Regions from separate parts of the Homo sapiens genome. Here region 1 is linked to region 2. Evidence: promoter capture Hi-C in human tissues and cell types (Jung and others, 2019). All regions are on one chromosome and are shown on one strand. The core of a region is centred on a gene start or on the middle of the fragment in contact, and the rest is flanking DNA. Distances in the headings are between cores, read along the strand shown. Region 1 has its middle 16 kb from the start of PSMA1. Region 2 holds the start of FAR1 (fatty acyl-CoA reductase 1).

The links. The method cuts DNA at HindIII sites, captures the fragments that hold promoters and counts their contacts. A contact is called where the count stands out against the background at its distance.
Region 1: a contact is called between a fragment that was not itself captured here and the fragment with the promoter of FAR1 in region 2, in 1 of the 25 tissues and cell types used here (heart left ventricle).

What each region holds. Positions count from the first base shown.
Region 1 is chr11:14,533,426-14,539,800 of GRCh38, forward strand. It overlaps a transcript of PSMA1 not described here. Among named protein-coding and RNA genes, the nearest start is that of PSMA1, 16 kb to the left of the region's middle. The HindIII fragment of the contact is 5,789 bases long and covers 1-5,165 here.
Region 2 is chr11:13,665,982-13,672,187 of GRCh38, forward strand. It overlaps FAR1 (fatty acyl-CoA reductase 1), which reads left to right and starts at 2,687. Exons shown (of 12, transcript NM_032228.6): 1 at 2,687-2,825. RefSeq lists silencers at 2,237-2,726, 2,837-3,116 and an enhancer at 3,197-3,246. The HindIII fragment of the contact is 12,577 bases long and covers 1-5,979 here.

The DNA.
Region 1 (6,375 bases), core at 1,021-3,520, 870 kb after region 2:
CTGCACCCAAGTACAGCTTCCTAAGGTACCCCATGTGGCTTTCCTCTTTGAGGTTTTGCCACTATCTGGGCTTTGTTACAGAACAAGATGGGAATCTTAGCTATTCACTCAAACTATAGGCTTCAGACTTCTAAGTTTTTTTCTTTTTTCTTTTCTTTTCTTTTTTTTTTTTAATAGAAACGGGGTCTCACTATGTTGCCCAGGCAGGTCTTGAACTCCTGGGCTCGAGCCATCTACCCAGCTCAGCCTCCCAAAGTGCTGGGATTACAGGCATGAGCCACTGAGCTTGGCCCAGACTTCTAACTTTTGAGGAATCCCTCTTTCACCTCCCTCTTCTCATTTCACAAGACAGAGCCTATGGTATTTCTGAGCAGTGTTTGCTTTTTGCCTTACAAAAATCTGAAGTCTAGATACTTGCTTGAATGGGAGAAAGGGGTAGTAGGATAGGAGAACACATAAAATTAATATCTCAAGGCTGGGCGCAGTGGCTCATGCCTGTAATCCCAGCACTTTGGGAGGCTGAGGAGGGTGGATCACCTGAGGTCAGGAGTTTGAGACCAGCCTGACCAAAATAGTGAAATCCCCATCTCTACTAAAAATACAAAATTAGCCGGGCATGGAGGTGCATGTCTGTAACCCCAGCTACTTGGGAAGCTGAGGCAGGAGAATCACTTGAACCCAGGAGGTGGAGGTTGCAGTGAGCCGAAATTGTGCCACTGCACTCCAGACTGGGCAACAAGAGCAAAACTCTGCCTCAAAAATACATACATACATACATACATAAATAAAATAAAATAAAAATTAATATCTCAAAATAAACTGCCACAAAAAATTTGTATCAAATTATATATGATTCTTTTTAAACCTGCTTTTCTATGTAAACATTAAACCACGAACATTTCTTCATGTCACATGCTTTAAATGTCTGTATAGCTATAAGGTATTACATCATATAAATGTTTCATAATTTATTTGACTAATATTTGATAGCCTTTAAACAGCTTGCTTTAAACTAGCCTTATCTGCACCCACTCCCACCTTTTTAAAATTTTAATTTTAATTTATTTGTTTATTTTTAGGACAGGCTTTTGCTCTGTTGCCCAGGCTGGAGTGCAGTGGTGTGATCAAAGTTCACTCCTGGGCTCAAGCAACTCTCCTGCCTCAGCCTCTAGAGTAGCTGGGTCTACAGGAGTGAGCCACTGTGCTGACCATTTTTTTTTTAATTACTGTGTTTTTTCCCTTTCAATACTATCCATCTGGAGAAGGGAGAATATCCTGAGAATATATTTTCCAATATGTGTAACATGTATATACATCGTGTGTACATATGCATATTTAAAAAAATTAAAAAAACAAACAAACCTGCTTATAGGAGGCCAGGTGCGGTGGCTCACGCCTGTAATCCCAGCACTTTGGGAGGCAGGCAGATCTCCTGAGATCAGGAATTCAAGACCAGCCTGGCCAACATGGCAAAACCCCGTCTCTACTAAAAATACAAAATTAGCGGGCATGGTGGCAGACGCCTGTAATCCCAGCTACTCGGGAGGCTGAGGCAGGAGAATTGCTTGAACCCAGGAGGCAGAGGTTGCAGTGGGCCGAGATTGCACCACTGCAATCCAGCTTGGGCGACAGAACGAGACTCCATCTCAGGAAAAACAAAAACAAAAAACAAACAAAAAAACCCCTGGTATTTTAGAAGCTTTTTATTTTTAACTGGTTATTCAGAAGCTAAGGTTTTTTTTTTTTCTGGCAACAGCTAACACTTGGAATAGAGCAATCTGGAATTAATAGACATAATTGGGAAGAATAACAATTTAGAGTTATATCTAAACTGTATAATATAATTTTCCTCCCTCAGTGTGTGACTAAAAGAGAGGCCTGTACAAAAGCCATGGCACACTTGAGTTGTTTAGAAATATTTTTTTCCAGAAATTAAGCAATTATTACAGACTGTCATCTAGATAGTTGAGTAACAATGAATCTTACATGTTCATGGGAAAATTTCTTTTTCTTTCTTTCTTTTTTTTTTTTTTTTGAGACGGAGTTTTGCTCTTGTTGCCTAGGCTAGAGTGCAATGGCACGATCTCGGCTCACTGCAACCTCCGCCTCCAGGGTTCAAGAGGTTCTCCTGCCTCAGCTTCCCGAGTAGCTGGGATTACAAGCATGCGCCACCACACCCGGCTAATTTTTGTATTTTTAGTAGAGACGGGGGTTTCTCCATTTTGGTCAGGCTGGTCTCGAACTCCCGATCTCAGGTGATGCGCCCACCTCGGCCTCCCAAAGTGCTGGGATTACAGGCATGAGCCACCCCACCCGGCCATTCATGGGAAAATTTCAGTTTGGCTTTTATTTGGATTTTTTTTATTCTAAAAAATCCTGAAATAACTAATAATGGTCTTTAAATTGGAGAATTAGTGTTGTTTTTCTGTTCCATTCTTCCTGCAAGATACCTCTATTGATCAATTTTGCAAATACTGGTTAAGAATCAGGGTGTATCCTGATCCAAATCCCCAAATCATGCTTCGAGGAGTTGAAAGCCATTAAAACCCCAAGAAACCAAATATCTCTTTTGTTGGTCCACAAGTAGGGCTTTTATATAAGAGCCACTCTGAAGTGTCCAGCCAAGCACTTTCAGCCACCAATATATATGCATAGAAGGTAATAGTGAAAAGCACAGGTTTTGGAGCCAGACATTTCTCATTCCTTCAAAAAATATTTGTTGATCACCTTACTATATACTAAGCATTATTACTAACAATAATAACTGTTATTACTAATCCCGGCCAATGTCTTCTCATTTTCAAAATAAACCTCTCTTAGGCCGCGCGAGGTGGCTCACGCCTGTAATCCCAGCACTTTGGGAGGCCGAGGGGGGCGGATCACCTGCGGTCAAGAATTCGAAACCAGCCTGACCAACATGGCGAAACCCCGTCTTTACTAAAAATACAAACATTAGCCGGGCTTGGTGGTGAGCGCCTGTAATCCCAACTACTCAGGAGGCTGAGGCAAGAGAATCGCTTGAACCCGGGAGGTGGAGGTTGCAGTGAGCAGAGATCTTGCCACTGCACTCCAGCCTGGGCGAAAGAGCGAGACTCCGACTCCAAAAAACAAACAAACAGAAAAACAAACAAAAAAACTCAGATATTTCTTCCTCTAATAGGACAAAGGCAGCATTTAAAAAAATTTTTTTTTATTTTTATTTTTGAGACGGAGTCTCGCTCTGTCGCCCAGGCTGGAGTGCAGTGGCACGATCTCGGCTTATCGCAAGCTCCGCCTCCTGAGTTCATGCCATTCTCCTGCCTCAGCCTCCCGAGTAGCTGGGACTACAGGCGCCCGCCACCACGCCAGGCTAATTTTGTTTTTCTATTTTTAGTAGAGATGGGGTTTCACTGTGTTAGCCAGGATGGTCTCAATCTCCTGACCTCGTGATCCGCCCGCCTCGGCCTCCCGAAGTGCTGGGATTACAGGCGTGAGCCACCGCGCCCTGCCAAAGGCAACATTTTTTCGTGTCATGATGGCTTCAGAATTTCTTTTCCTTTAGCTTGTTGCTGGAGTGGCAACGGCAACAAGAGAACAGACATTTTATGATGGAAGGAGTATGCTTACAAATAGGCCAAATATTTTCATTTGTTTTATTTCTTTATCTTTCCTCAAGACAAGAGAGAAAAAATTCAATCCTTAGTCTGCCAATAGACCAATAATTCCTAAGATATTGTTTACAATAAAAGTAATATGTCCTTTAAAACTAATGTTTTCTAGAATTTCAGTGGCAAACTAAGTGCGCAGTTCCTTCCTCTACTGCTAGGTGGCGATTAATGCCTTATTTAGAAAAAACAATTCTTCCTCCCTGACCCCACCACCCTCGCCCAGAAAAATACGTGCATTTTCTCTTCTTTAAGGTAAGACTTCCCTTAAGGATAATATTCTTTTATTCCTGTTTTGTCCAAGTGAATTTACATTCACCTTTTCCTTTAATTGTTAAGAATAACACATACAAATCAAACGCATACTGCAATAACTAAGGAAGAATAGATCATATCTTTTAAAGAGGGTGGTTTCCAAACTGAGTGTATGTTCATGAATGATACAGAGTAGGAAGTTGCTATAACTTCCCTGCAGGGTTTTTTTTTTTTTTCAGTTTCACTAAAGAAAAATTTCCTGGCCCATGCTAACATCATGCCTAATGTGATTAATTATAAATATAACATTATTAAATATAAAATAAAAATAGAGAAGGAAAATTATTTTAAAGACCTAAAGGCAATTTTAATGTGGTAAAATTACCCTTTTTTTTTTTTTTTTAGACAGAGTATCACTTTGTCACCCAGGCTGGAGTGCAGTGCCATGATCTCAGCTCCCTGCAACTTCCATCTCCCAGGTTCAAGTGATTCTCATGCCTCAGCCTCCCCAGTAGCTGAAATTACAGATGTGCACTGCCACACCTGGCTAACTTTTGTATTTTTAGTAGAGATGGGGTTTTGCCATGTTGGCCAGGCTGGTCTCGAACTCCTGGCCTCAAGTGATCCGCCTGCCTCGGACTCCCAAAGTGCTGGGATTACAAGTGTGAGCCACCGCGCCTGGCCTAAAATTGCTTTTTAATGTGAACTATGGGAAAAACAACGAAATAATTATTCATAAAAGTAACTGAGGGGGTATAATATAAAAAAATTTTTTTTCAGGCAATCTTTCAATATTTATTCCTAGCAAAATTACTTAAAAACTACACATAGTTCCTATGTATTTATAAGTCTAGTGAATCTGGTCTACATTTTTTTCTAAGTATGTTTAATTGTGTGTACATTGCTGTCTCCAACCTTCTTTGCCAAAAAGAATACGTGTAGTGGATGTTTGTTTTATATAAAATTCAAATATTGAATCCCTGTTTAAAGAAGACTCTCGGTTTGGGTCTTAAACTAAAGACTTTTCCCAGGCTGGACTCGATGAAGTCTAAAATCAAAAAGAAAAGCTGCTTCTGGCATTCTAGGCCTTCCCTGCATCCAGATGGCCTGTCTGTAGCCTAGCCAGAACCAAACCCTTCCTGCTGCCTTTTCAGCTGGTCTTGGATGACAGCCCCATGCTACGCCAGCTTCCATATCCCTTAACTCTTGAATGTCCAAGATTTTTAAGAAGAAGTGGGACTTCCCATGTGAATTTGGTTGAAAGGGTAAATCAAGTTTTATACTTGAAGTTTAGTTTATAAAATATTTATTCACATCACTACCACCAACCCCTTCACAGGCTTCCTCCCACAGTAGCTCAGTCAGCCAAGTGGCATCAGAGGGAGCACCGTTTGGAAGGGAGTGTGTGTGGGCAGCTTGCAGGTGAGGACAGGGCTGCCAAGGCAGACCATGCGGTCTGTCCTGTGCCTACACCCAGTACCTGACTTCTGCCTTTCCAGAGCATTTGTATACACACAGCAGTTCTGTTGTTTGGGGTGTGCGTAATTTCAAAAAGTACTTTTTAAAATAACTCATTGACAAGACTTACATTTAGCAAACAAGAATATGTAATGGCAGATATAAAATGACCATGCATGGATTTAAGTGGGAACTTCTCTGAAGTCGTTGGGACAGAAAAACAAATCTACTCCATGTTTTAAAAGTACCTTTGGAAATCTTACTAGTGGCAGCCATTGTTTTCTTATGGGTTCTCAAAGGCTTATTTGTCTGTGGGAATTTCAACAGAAGGTAATACACAGGCAAACTACACTTGAAGGCAACATTTCTCTCTGGCTTTCCTTTTCTACACAGAGAGATATTCTAACTGATTTGCAAGGGTGCTTCTCAGTTGGCCGGAATGAGATATTTTCAGATGAAAGCCTATGACTCTGTGTCACTTTCCCCCTTATTTTTGAATCTCATGTCTTAGTTCTGCAGTCACTGTTATTTTTAATTATTATTATTATGCCTGTTGCCAAGCTATTCCACTTTACACAGAGTTGATTAGAGACCTGACAAATCCAGGCCAACATAAAGTCCTGGCTTCCAGATCAGACTACGTGAACAAAGAAAAAAAAGAAATCTACCAAAGTGCCAGCTTTTAGAAAGCTCTTAAAGGAAAAAAAGGAAGAAAAAAATAATTTTAAAAACCAAAACAAACTAGAGTTATAAAGAGTGGAGCTTAAGAACAGGACCCACGGGCCGGGTGCGGTGGCTCACGCCTGTAATCCCAGCACTTTGGGAGGGCGAGACGGGCGGATCACGAAGTCAGGAGATGGAGACCATCCTGGCTAACATGGTGAAACCCCGTCTCTACTAAAAATACAAAAACAGAATTAGCCGGGCGTGGTGGCAGGCGCCTATAGTCCCAGCTACTCAGGAGGCTGAGGCAGGAGAATGGCGTGAACCTGGGAGGTGGAGCTTGCAGTGAGCCGAG
Region 2 (6,206 bases), core at 1,437-3,936:
ATAAAAATGCTTGAACTTGTTTTTTGTTTCTAAAAATGTTATGAAATTCTGAGAGTCATAATAGCCACGTTATGGCCAATATGCCAACCACGTTAAGGGTAGCATATTCGTTTTGGTCTTTATTCCTATATATTTTCTCAATGATATATAGTATCTCCCTTTAGGCTAGAAACTATAATGGTACATTTTTGGCTTGGTGTAATTTACCTTCATTTAAAAGATATTGTTTCTATAGCATGGATCAAAAAGATGTAGAGTTGTTTCATGTTTGAATAAAATTATAATGCAGTTGATACCAATATATGGCGCCCAATTTTCAGGGATCTTGCTGAATAAAGATGGGAAAGGCAGATGAATGAATGATTGATGTCATTACATTTTTCTAGTTTAAACTCTGGTGCAAAATCTTTCACTGCCTTTTATTACTCACTTTTTGTAGATTTATTAATTCTCTGAATTCATTTAAGAATGATAGTATATTATGGAAGATTCGAGTCATACAACATGCCTTACCCATGAAATTGTACCATCTTGGAGAGTGATCCATTGTTTTTTAAAGTCTTCCTCCAGAAAGCACTCTGTCCATTTGTGGGGGTCTGCCGGAGGCACACATTTCATACACATTGACTTGAATCAAATGAGATCCCTTTGTGCTCTCAAGTGTACGGCTATTTTTGAGAATCATTTATTAAGTGATTACTTAATAATTACATCATATTTTCCTCAGAACTAAGCATTACTTTGCTTTTGTACTTATATCAATTTTTAAAATTAAGACATATGCACAAACAACAAAAAGTTTATGAAGTATTTTCTGGAAATAGTGTCTATTTCCTATAGTGATATTACCCTATCAGTATACTGATAAACCTTAGCAGTGGTTAACTTAGCTACACATGTTCTAACATGCTCCTGAATCCCCCATGCTGGGTTACATCCTCTTTCTAGGTATTCCCTCATCCTGTATTACACTGGCATTGTTTATGTCTGTCTCTCCATTAAACCCTATGTTCTGTGGAATACTGTCATATCCAAGTTTATATGCCTAGTGTAGTGACAAGCACTTTAAATAAAGGCATTTACCTGATTTAAACAACTTAATGACTAAATTAATAAATATGAATACTGTAATCTTTGTTTTGTTGCTTGTGTTCTTTTACAGATTAGAATTTGGTCCATAGTTCTTACGTTTGTTTTGGGAGAATATTTTGACCCACTTCTAAGAAGTGTTTCACCTGATCCTGGCTATTTATGACTATGGCTATTGGACTGGATGGGTTCCAGGCATACACTGTCTTGCCTAAAGTAGCGGAATGCGACATCCCTGAGGGTAAGCAAGTGTGTTAGCTTTGTGTTCTGTGCCCTCCTCCAGAAATGACAGTACTTGCTGCAAGACTGTGAGCTCATCGAGGCAGAAGCCATGGCATTCAAATTAGTTTCCTGAGCCAGAACTTAACATCTGCCACAAAGTAGGCAGTTCAGTGAGCTTTTGTAGTTTCCAACTGGATGCAGCACTATGACTGCTTTTAGCTACTAACAGGGCCAGGCACTGAAACAAGCTCTAAATCCCCACAGAAAAATCACTCTGAGCCATCCATCCCTAAATACCAACCTGTGCATGCTATTCACCGTGCCAAGAGCGTTCACTCATTTTTGCTTCTCACAAATCTTTTTTTTTCTTCCTATGGCTTGCATGTTTTGAATGACAGCTAAATCCTAATGCGGACTGTTTATACAATGGAGTCCCACGGAGCCCAAAGATTGTGGTAATATTATTACAGAATTCTCATGATCCTTTTATTATTTTTTAAAAATGAGCCGTATGAATGTGGTAATACTATTAAGTGTCCGGCTCGATGAATTCCTCCATGTGTACACAGCCCGGAACGACCACCAGGATCAAGACGCAATGTTTCCAGCTTTCCATAGGTTCCCTCGTGCCCCACCCCTCAGAAGTAAACGTTATTCTAACTCCTATCACTACCGGTAAGTTTTGTAGGGAATTATTTTGGAGGAAGTGGAAGGTGGAATGAATGGGCCCACAGTCCCCTGGGACTGGGCGAGACCCGTGGAGGCTCCAGGGGTCCGTAGAGCTCTTCGCTCTCACCGACCCGGGCCACACCCGCCAAGCTGGTAGTTCTCCGAACGGATCCCTCACGCCCAGCAATGGCCGGAGGGCCCCCGGGCCCCACCATAATAGCGCTAAGCACGCCACAATGGCAGCCCCGCTGTCTCCCGCGCGGGCCTCGCTGCGTGCTCCCAACCTTGGGAGTTGGCGCCCCTCCCGCGCGACGGACAGCCGGGCGTGGCCCTGGGCGCGACCCGACAGGACGCCAGCAGCCGGCGGGGGCGCTCCAGGACTCGAGATGTGGGGCGCGGGCCCATTGGCTGAGCATTCCCCCGCGAGCCTCCCGGCCGCAGGGCCCACCTCCCGGCCCTCTCTCCGCGCCCCCATTGGCCGTTCGCGTTCCGCGGGCGTCCGCTCCCGCCCCACTCCCGCCCGGAGGGAAACCGGGTTGGGGGTGAGAGGCTAAAGCAGGGAGGAGGATGACTGGTCCTGCGGATAAGGGTGTGCGCGAGAGCCAATCAAAAGCGGATGTCGAAAAGAGGCGCCGCTCCAGCCAGTCACGTCGCGAGGTGCGGTCGGGGCCGGCTGACGCGACTGCGGGCCTCAGCCAATGGGCGTGCCACTGCCCGTCCGCTCTTCAGCAGCCGGTCGCGGGCGGTGGAAAAGCGAGTGAAGAGAGCGCGACGGCGGCGGCGGCGGCGGCGCAGCTATTGCTGGACGGCCAGTGGGAGAGCGAGGCCTGAGCCTCTGCGTCTAGGTGAGAAGGGGGTGCGCCAGCGGGAGCGGCCGGGCTGCGGGCTCCTCCTCGCCTGGCTCGGGAAGTGGTTGCGGGAGCTCGGGCTGCAGGCCTGGCCGAGGCGGGGGCGCCGACCAGCCGTCCCGCCCCCGCCCCCGCCCGGGTACGCCCAGAAGTGAGGGCGCCCGCCTCACCCCGGGTGGTCTCTGCCCCTCTTTGCCCCGCCGCCGCCCTTCACAGGGCCGGGACCGCGTGGGGGACGTACGGTGGGGCCTGGTTTGCAGCCGCGGAGCCCGGGGAGCCGCCTGGGGTGGGAGGCCGCTAGAGGTGGCGAAGGTGGGGCGGGGTGGTTAGCCGAGCAGCGGGCTCCGCGTGCTCGCGGGAGGGTAGCGGCAAAGGGAGGCCTAGTGATTGCAGGATTCCGGGTCTGGGGAGGAAGAAAGTGGTGGGAAATAGGTGATGCTCAGAAAAGGGTGCTGAGGGAGAAGGCGCGGGGCCGGGGAGTGTGGTTGGCCTATTAGAAGTAAGGATTGATAGGGCCTGGGTGGAGATCAGCTGGGAGTGAAGGGGGGACGGGCTTGGGTTTTGAAGGTGAAGGTCTCTGGAGAACTGGGGACACGTGGATCTGGAGTAAGAGGCACCTACTGAAACCGGAAGGTGGCTGAGAAGGTTTTATGTGAGGTGTGGACGGGAGGCTATTGGACTAGAAGGCATTAGTTGGTCTGTTAGGACAAAGTATACAAGCAGCAAACGCGGTAGATTTATGTGTGGTAGGTGAAGGCTGTGAATCTTTTATGAGTAGTTGAGCAAGAACAGTTGTCTGATTCTGCGGTGTCGGAGAGTGGAGGGTCTCAGGTAGTGTCTTGGTCAGGTTTGAAGGTTAATTTACTGCTAGTGGAGGGCCAAATACTCAAAAGAGTTTTTAATTCTCACTACTGGGGCTGATCCTCCTCCTACACTCCACCCCTCCTGCCATCCCTGTGACAGTTCATCTCGTTTTGCCTCAGCAGCACAAGAACTCACTCCCTCCGAAGTAATGGCATACATATTGTTTGCTTTTGACTAGATGGCAGTCAGGAATCCCTTAATTCTTTATGTTAAAAAAAAAAGTGTTGGTTTAAAGACAACATCAGAAGATACTCTCAGAAAATCTGCCCTCCAGGGGAGTTTCTCAGCTGTCATGTTGGGCATGTGTAATATAGCATAAAAATGATGCAAGATCTCTTACAGTAATACAAGTGAGAATTAACGTATAAGTACAATCCTGATGTATTTTTTTCAAATTAATTTAAAAAGTAAACAGAGACAGGGTTTGCTGTCGCCCAGGCTGGAGTGCAGTGGCGAGATCATAGCTCGTTCCAGCCTCAAACTCCTCGGCCCAAGAGATCTTTCCACCGTGGCCTCTCAAAGGCTTGGGATTACAGGGGTGAGCCACCCCACCCAGGCCCTGTTATTCCATACATTTTCCATAAAATTATTTTATAATTTTTGTTTTGTTTTGTTTTTATTTTATAAATTTGTGTGTGTGTGTCTCGCTTTGTTGCCCAGGCTGGAGTGCAGTGACGCGATCTTGGCTCGCTGCAACCTCCACCTCCCAGGTTCAAGTGATCAGCTCTTGCCTCAGCCTCTCGAGTAGTTGGGACTACAGAGACATGCCCCACCGCACCGGCTAATTTTTGTATTTTTAGTAGAGGCGGGGTTTCACCATATTGGCCAGGCTGGTCTCGAACCCCTGACTTCAAGAGATCCATCCGCCTCGGCCTCCCAAAGTGCTGGGATTACAGGCGTTAGCTGCCGCGCCGGCCAAAATTATTCCATAAATTTATCCATAAAAATTCCACATAAATTTTCTGGAGTTTGATTATGTATTAGGCTTGTTGGGAAATTTATTACCCTTGTGAAGAATTTTGTAGCTAAGTAGCTTGAGGGTTTTTTTTTTTTTTTCACTCAGGAAAGACATGGTATGTATGCATCACTGCTATTCTATTTGAAGCTTTTGGAATTTTTATTTATGGGGTGTGGATAGAGGCTGGAGGCAGAGACTGAGGTCAGAGAAGAGGTAGTAGAAAAGAAGGTGGCCCACTACCATATTTCCAGTGTATTTAAATGGGAGATAGAGTTTCTGTTTGAGGATAGGACAAAAGGTTTGTGAAGAGTTATAGAGTCAAGGACAGAAGCCAAAGAGAGCATTTGCTGTGTAACATGTTTGCTTGTTAACCAGATCAGCAAAGCATTTTAACTAATGGACCATTATTTATGATCTAGAAACAATTTTGTGAAAGCGATTTCTTAGTGATGCTGTTTACTGTGATCACATTTGCCCTTAGTATAACAATACCTAAGTGCTGAGGCGACTTGCAGTAGAGAAGTAATCTGAGTGGCGTGGAGTGAATCAGGGAAGGTTTCCTGAAAGAGGTGAGTTTTGAGCCATCATGTGAACTAGAAGTTGGGATGTGGGTTATTACAAGACATGAGGATGACATTCCAGTAGTTTGTACTTGGTATAAGCAACTGTGGACAAGAGTGACAAATTAAAAATGGTTTTTAAGGATGATTGAAGATTCGAATGAAGATTTAGGGGTTTGGAAATCAACCAAGGCTATGTTGCAGCTTAGCTGATAAATAATTTTTTATGTTGGTTAGGAGAGAAAATTAACAGTTGATAATGGATTGGAGATAGGTAGTAAAGGAAAGAGCATAAAATATTTGATAGTTATAGGAGAATGAAGTGAAAGTAAGGTTATTGAGAGGTAGGTTTAACAGTCAACCATATATCATAAGTTGGAAACATTTTTGAGTCCTGTGCTAGAGTATATTGATAATAATAGCAAAATTTATTGGGTGCTACTTTGTGGCAGACACTGTTTTGAACCTTCCAAATATTATCTCATCTTCTGATTATCTGTATTTTATAGATGAGGGAGATAAGACTCAGAGAGATATAACTTGCCCAAGGTCACACAGCTAGGAGGGGACAGGTCAGGATTGGCAGAATCAGTCAGTAAATGTTAATTGAGCATCTGCTTGATGCCAGGCACTGTAGTAAGTGCTGGGTGTTCAATATTGACAAGAAAATTCAAGTCAGACCTCATCTATTTTCTAGAGATTGTCAGTTTATGTAAGAAGAGCCAGTGAAGAAAGAAAAAGATTAGTTGGAGAGATTTCTGTAGATACTGAGGAATACACTGTTTAGAGAAACCTGGGATAGAGTTTTAAAGAGGTGGTGGTTAGCAACAAAGTATATAGCTGAGAGACTCAGAACGATTGAGAAGAAACCATTGAGTTAAGTAAGTAAAAAAGTAATGTGAATTTAGTCACAAGAAAGCTGGAATGAAGATATTAATGTTTGGGCTGGTAGTTAATTGTGTTTAGTGGCAGGTACTCTATACAAATTTAAATATT